Regions from separate parts of the Homo sapiens genome. Here region 2 is linked to region 1. Evidence: promoter capture Hi-C in human tissues and cell types (Jung and others, 2019). All regions are on one chromosome and are shown on one strand. Each heading gives the region's core, a stretch centred on a gene start or on the middle of the fragment in contact. The rest is flanking DNA. Distances are from core to core; before and after follow the strand shown.

Evidence for each region. The method cuts DNA at HindIII sites, captures the fragments that hold promoters and counts their contacts. A contact is called where the count stands out against the background at its distance.
Region 2: a contact is called between a fragment that was not itself captured here and the fragment with the promoter of ZNF587 in region 1, in 1 of the 25 tissues and cell types used here (bladder).

Annotation. Positions count from the first base shown.
Region 1 is chr19:57,848,306-57,851,687 of GRCh38, reverse strand. ZNF587 (zinc finger protein 587) reads right to left here and starts at 1,829. Exons shown (of 3, transcript NM_032828.4): 1 at 1,617-1,829. The coding sequence starts at 1,649. It overlaps LOC124904782 (a long non-coding RNA gene), which reads left to right. Exons shown (of 2, transcript XR_007067358.1): 2 at 1,127-1,373. RefSeq lists enhancers at 188-1,387, 1,442-1,531, 1,582-1,821, 1,992-2,051, 2,122-2,231. The HindIII fragment of the contact is 32,917 bases long and covers 1-3,382 here.
Region 2 is chr19:57,784,503-57,787,884 of GRCh38, reverse strand. No RefSeq gene overlaps it. Among named protein-coding and RNA genes, the nearest start is that of ZNF586, 17 kb to the right of the region's middle. RefSeq lists enhancers at 889-1,507, 1,508-2,127. The HindIII fragment of the contact is 4,625 bases long and covers 1-3,382 here.

The DNA.
Region 1 (3,382 bases), core at 580-3,079:
CTGGCCTGCTTGCTCTACCAGGAAGAGCTCCATCTCACACGTTGTTCCTGACAGATGCCTGTGAACCCCAGGTTCCATCCTTCCAGCTCTGTCCATCTGCAGGCCATTGCCTGCACCCCTACCTGTGCCTGTCACTCTCCCCACTGCATCCCACTGGTGTCAGAAACAGGTGAAACCGACTTTGCAAAATTATAACTGACGAAATTATGACAGTGAAAGAAATCAGACCTAACCGACTCCATCTTGCTTCCAACCTTTCAGCCGTCTTTTTTCATTCCTGGGCATAGGCTGAATTAACTTTGGAAAAGAATTCAGTTCATGGTTTCACTCTGAAACAAAATTGATAATAGCCCTTTCCTGAAAAGACCCCTTTCTTGCCTGGGGACCAGCCTGTCTTTGCAGGACTAACAAATTAGCTACAAGAATAGAAATTACGGTTTAGGGGTCATGCAGCTTCTGGCTCCAAGAGTCTGAACCTCCCCAAGTTGCTCCTGAAGATAACCTTACTATTGTAAAACCTAATGTGAGTTTCTGGGGTGCTAGTTGAGTTGGTCTCCCCTGTGTGAGACACCCATGGGAAGCCATGGGCGGCCTCTGAGGAGAAAAGTCTCCTTATTGCCTTCATGTCTTTATGCCCCGAGAGCATAACTCTTCAGCAGCATTCCATGGGTTGCTCAGGGAGATCACACTCCCTTGAAGCAGTGGAGCATAATCAAACATCTTGGCTCCTCCTGAAACCCGCAGCCACCCGTTTCAGTTAAGTTAAAGATCTTAAGTAGTTTAGACACACGCCTTTGTTCAAGGAAATTCACAGAAACGGCCAGTGCTTTACATCTTATGGAATGACTCACGAGTTCTCCTTTACTGATTAATCCTTTTCCTGATCGCTTCCTCCCCCTCCAATCAGCCATAAGAACAAAGAGCTTGTAAACCAATAAACTGGGTGGAGCCCAAGAGCTCTGGGCCGCCAGGAAGCCTCCAATGCTCTGGCCACCTGGACCCGCCTTTTAAATGCGTATTCTGTCTCTTTCTAACTCCTTTGTCTCCGCAGGACTCGGGGTATCTGCTGGGTGGTGTGGGGCTGGTTTCCCCAATATCTAAGATCAGTGCTTGGGGCATTTTGCAGATCCTGCACTGGATGGATCAGCGGACAACACACAGACCGGTAATCTGGGTCAATCAGTTCTGCCATCCCACCCAGAACAGAAAACAGCATGAAAAACTCACTTTAACCCCCTATGAATCCATCTCCAACCAGACTGATCAGCACTCCCCACTTCCCAAGCCCCTACCCGCCAAATTTTGAAAACTCTGATCCCAGAATGCTCAGGGAGACTGATTTGAATAATAAAACTCCTGTCTCCCGAACAGCAGGACGGCTCTGCGTGAATTACTATTTCTCCATCGCAATTCCCCAGTCTTCATAAATCGGCTCTGTCTAGGCAGCTGGCAACGTGAACCCACTGGACGGTTACAAGGAGAGGCCTCCTGTGAGCGCCTCAGTGTTCCTACGCCGGGTACCGGCTACAGACCCACGAGCAGGAGCCGCTCCCTCGCTGGTTTAGGACCTGGGTGACGATGGGGTGACCTGAGGGCACAGAAGGCACCACAATTACCTGAGTTGGGCGCCTCGGCACAGCCGCTGCCATCGGACTACTTGGGGAAGCACGGCCCGGGAGCAGTGGTCGCCGTCACGGGGCTGCAGAGCCGCCTCTGGGCACCGAGGACGATTCCTCTCCACCTTCTAGGTTCAGTCACCGCGGTCCCACCCAGCACTCAGGGGCCACAAACTGGGGAAACACCCGCATCGCCGATACACAGCCGCTACTAGAGACCCCGGAAGTCTCGGCCTTACGTTACGTGCACACGTGGAAATGCCTTCTTTCCGAGTGCTCACTGGCTCTGACCGGCTGTCGTTTAAAGCAGAGCTTTCTGGGTAATGTAGTTCCCCACTTTCCATGACACAACATGGTTACCAGGTTCTGAAATGTTCATGGCTCAGATGCACCTCCAAGCCTTTGTACCTATTGGTTCCTCTACCTGTATTACTCTAGCTGGGGTGAAGCCTGTAATACACAGCATTTACCTGAGCTAGGTCCCTCAGTGTGGCTGCTGCCATCAACTGTGGGTGGAGCAGGCATCACCCCAGCCAGTGCCTATGAGCCTCAGACCTGCCACTTGGGAGCAGAGATGACTACTCCTCTTGTGCCTTCTCAGTCCCAACCCAGTACTCCCTGGCCTGACAAGCATGCCCAGAAATCCCTCATCCTGGGCCTTGCAACTAGCGCCTTCTGGGTAAAGTACTTCCCAGAGCTCTCAGCCAACAATGGTGGTATCCTCCAAGAGCAAACCGAATGCAGACCATGTTACATTCTGAGGGCTGCTGGAAAGCCCTGCTCACACCTCAAAGGAGGAAGATTATTGATTCTTTGTAAAAGCATCAAATAGGTATCACATCAGACTCTAGGAAGCTCATCCTGCACCCAGAGAATAAAAATACTATTTGAGATGCTCCCAAACTTTACTTATCTAAGTGGCCATATCATTGGCATCATTCAGACTTACAATGTGTGCACTCAGAGCTGAGAACATTAAGTATTGATTGCTCTTTAAATTCACGTAGACTGAATCATTACAGTCAGTTTTGCGAGTTTCATTGTTTTGTTGGGAACAAAAGAAAATTCTCCATAAGACATGATGACAGGATGGGTACAAAAAACAGTGAGCAAAAATGAATAAGACCTAATATTTGCTACCATAACAGGGTGGCTATAGTCAAAATAATTTAATTATATATTTAAAAATAACTAAAAGAGTATAACTGGACTGTTTATAATACAGAGGATAAATGTTGAGGTGACTGAGACCCCATTTACCCTATGTGATTATCACATATGGCATGGCTACATCAAAATATCTAATGTAATCTACAAATATATACACTACTATATACCCACAAAAAATAAAAATAAAGGCCAGACATGGTGGCTCACACCTGTAATCCCAGCACTTTGGGAGGCCAAGGCAGGTGGATCACCTGAGGTCGGGAGTTCGAGACCAGCCTGGCCAACATGGAGAAACCGTGTCTCTACTGAAAGTACAAAATTTTCCAGGCATGGTGCTGCATGCCTCCAATTCCAGCTACTCGGGAGGCTGAGGTAGGAGAATTACTTGAACCCTGGAGGTGGAGGTTGCGATGAGTCGAGATCATGCCATTGCACTCCAGCCTGGGCAACAGGAGTGAGACTCTGTCTCAAAAAAAATAAAAAATAAAAAATAAATAAATTGCTGGGTGCAGTGGCTCATGCCTATAATCCCAACACTTTGGGAGGCTGAGTCAGGTGGATCATGAGGTCAGGAGTTCGAGACCAGCCTGACCAAT
Region 2 (3,382 bases), core at 609-3,108, 64 kb after region 1:
AGGCACCCGCCACCATGCCCAGCTGATTTTTGTATTTTTAGTAGAGACTGGGTTTTACCATGTTGGCCAGACTGGTCTAGATCTCCTGACCTCAAGCGATCCACCCGCCTTGACCTCCCAAAGTGCTGGGATTACAGGCGAGAGCCACCACGCCCGGCCTCTCCAGTTTCACTTCTAAGCCATTTCCACATCCCAGTATCATTCCTGGGTTAATCCACCACATGTGTTTCCCACCGGTCGACAGACATGAAAACACTTCTCCATAGCCTGTGTCAGTGACTTAGGTTTGGGGTTTGAGGATTTTGCAAGATCCCCAGATCGAAGGACAGGAGAAATTGCACTTAAGAGTCCTAGGAGGCCTGGCCAGACCAGCGGCTCACGCCTGTAATCCCAGCACTTTAGGAGGCCAAGGCGGGAGGATTGCTTGAGCCCAGGAGTTTTCGACCATCTTAGGCAACATGGCAAAACCCCGTCTCTATTAAAAACACAAACATTAGCCAGTTTCTCGGGAGACTGAGATGGGAGGATCACCTGAGCCTGGGGAGGTCAAGACTATGCTGAGCCATGATCGCGTCACTGCACTCCAACCTGGGTACCAAGAGTGACACTCTGTCGCTAAATAAATAAATTCCCAGGACATTAAGATCTAGACATATAGGTGAGGATGAGGACCAGTGAGGGACTAGAGCATCCTATACTTCCTTCTGTGGGTTCCTTAAATACTTCCATAGCCATGAGAAGGTGTGCCAAAAGGCGGAGCTTTCAGGAATGTGTCCCTGCTGGGATTTGATAGACTCAGGTTTCTCTGTAAGCTTTTTTTGGCCCTGTAGCCAGGTGACCTCAGGCTGAGTCTCTAATCTTGTGGCCCAGTGCTCAATGTCACCTCTTACCAGCTACGTGACCTTGAGCAAATATTCAACCTCTCAATGCCTCACTGTCCTCATCACCGCCTTACACTCCGTTCTTCCTTTGAACATCTTTTCGGAATCTTTAACTCTAACACAGATTTCCTCCTTTGTTCAAAACTGTCCATGGCTTCTACGGTCCTCACAAAGATCAATCCTCAGCCTGGTACTGAGGAAATAACTCCGACTCATACTTTGTTCTCAGTGGACACAAGATGTCCCTGTGTTCCGAATCCTCCTGGCGCAGTCGTGCCTCCAGGCCTTTGCCTAAGCCGGTCCCTCGGCCAGTCTCGCTCTCCCGACCGCATCAACCGGTGTCGGAAACAGGGATTCCACCCGCCGGCGCCTCTAGGTCCCTGACAGAGGCCTGAGCTGCAAGGACGCGAGGAAGCGCCCCTCACAGTCAGGGGTCTCAGGGTCTGTGTGGGGATGGCGGGTGAGGCCTGGAGGTCGCAGGGCTCACTTGAGCGGCCGCCGCCACGACTTCATGCGCGGGCGGGGACGCAGGCCAGGCGGTTCCTGTGCTCGTCCTGTCCCAGGTCGCGACCAGCGGCGTCGCCAAGCCTCAGATCCGCCTGTGTGCAATGGGCACAACCACTCCTCTCGCGCGCTCTCGGTCCTGACAAAGAGGTACAGACGCAGCATAGGTGGATGGTCCCGACAAGCCAAAATGGCCACCGCGGCGAGGACGCAGGAAGTCCCTGCTTGACGTTACGTGCCTCCGCAATGGCGCGGCTTCTCTGAGGCTTCAATGGGCTTTCCAATTCACAGAGACGATTCCGGGTAATATTTAAGTTCCGAGAGACGCGCGGCGCTTAAAGGCCGCCTCCAACCTGACTTTCGGAAGAAGGGGCTAAGCTCCACCGCGACGGGCGTTAGGAAATGGCAACTCCAGGTCCAGTTGCAGAGGAGGCTCCCCCATCTTAGAAGAGGCCATACGCGCATTTCTGCGGGTACTGTGTGCAACCGATTACCCGTGTGTTTGGAGACTTATTTCAGAATTTGTGATGCTGAGCTTCTTCGCAGATCTAAGACATCATTTGAGATGCCATCAAGAGCCACGAATCAAAATGGACATTTCATTACATAGGGTCATAAAGACATAAATTGCATCTACTGGAAGCTAAAGCTAGTGTGTGTGTGTGTGTGTGTATATATATATATATATATATATATATATATATATATATTTTTTTTTTTTTTTTTTTTTTTTTTTTTTTAGAACGGAGTCTGGCTCTGTAGCCCAGGCTGGAGTGCAGTGGCGCGATCTCGGCTCACTGCAAGCTTCGCCTCCCGGGTTCACGCCATTCTCCTGCCTCAGCCTCCCGAGTAGCTGGGACTACAGGTGCCCACCATGCCCGGCTAATTTTTTTGTATTTTTAGTAGAGACGGGGTTTCACTGTGTTAGCCCGGATGATCTTGATCTCCTGACCTCGTGATCCGCCCGCCTCCGCCTCCCAAAGTGCTAGGATTACAGGCGTGAGCCACCGCGCCCGGCATAAAGCTCATAAATATTTTTAAAGGCTATATATACATATAATACATATGAATGTATATGCATGCTTTGTACTACACATAAATTTGTAAAAATTTCATTATGATTTGAAAATTAACCAGTTATTTTAAATGGAATGAGAATTAAAAAGTATTACAGTAACATTCTGACTTAGAATATTGACATAATATTCATTCATTACTTATATATATGTTTTGTTGAGACGGTGTCTTGCCCTGTCGCCCAGGCTGGAGTGCAGTGGTGTGATCTCAGCTCACTGCAACCTCCGCCCGGAGGGTTCAAGCAATTCTCCTGCCTCAGCCTCCCAAGTAGCCAGGATTACAGGAATGTGCCACCACACCCAGTTAATTTTTGTATTTTTTAGTAAAGACAGGGTTTCACCATGTTGACTCGGCTGGTCTCAAACTCCGGACCTCAGGTGATCCACCTGCCTTGGCCTCTCAAAGTGCTAGGATTACAGGCGTGAGCCACTGCTCCAGGCCAGTAGTCACTTATATTTTATCAGGCACATTTTACTGAACTGGATTTTATTATCTTATTTATTTGAGATGAGTCTCACTCTGTCGCCCAGGCTGGAGTGCAGTAGCACATCTCGGCTCACTGCAACCTCCGCCTCCCGGGTTCAAGCAAGTCTCCTGCCTCAGCCTCCTGAGTAGCTGGGTCTACAGGCACATGCCGGCTCGTCCGGCTAATTTTCTGTATTTTAGTAGAGACAGGGTTTCACCGTCTTGCCCAGGGTGGTCTCGAACTCCTGAGCTCAGGCAACCCGCCTGCCTCAGCCTCCCAAAGTGCTGGGATTACAGGCGTGAGCCACCGCACCCGCATGAACTGAATTTTTTTAAAGAGACTATGTCGCCCAGGCCTTACTCAAACTCGAGCTCATGTAATCCTCCTGTTTCAGCCTTCTGAGAAGCTGGGACTACAGAGCCATGGTGCCTGGCTTTAAAGTAAATTTCTTAAG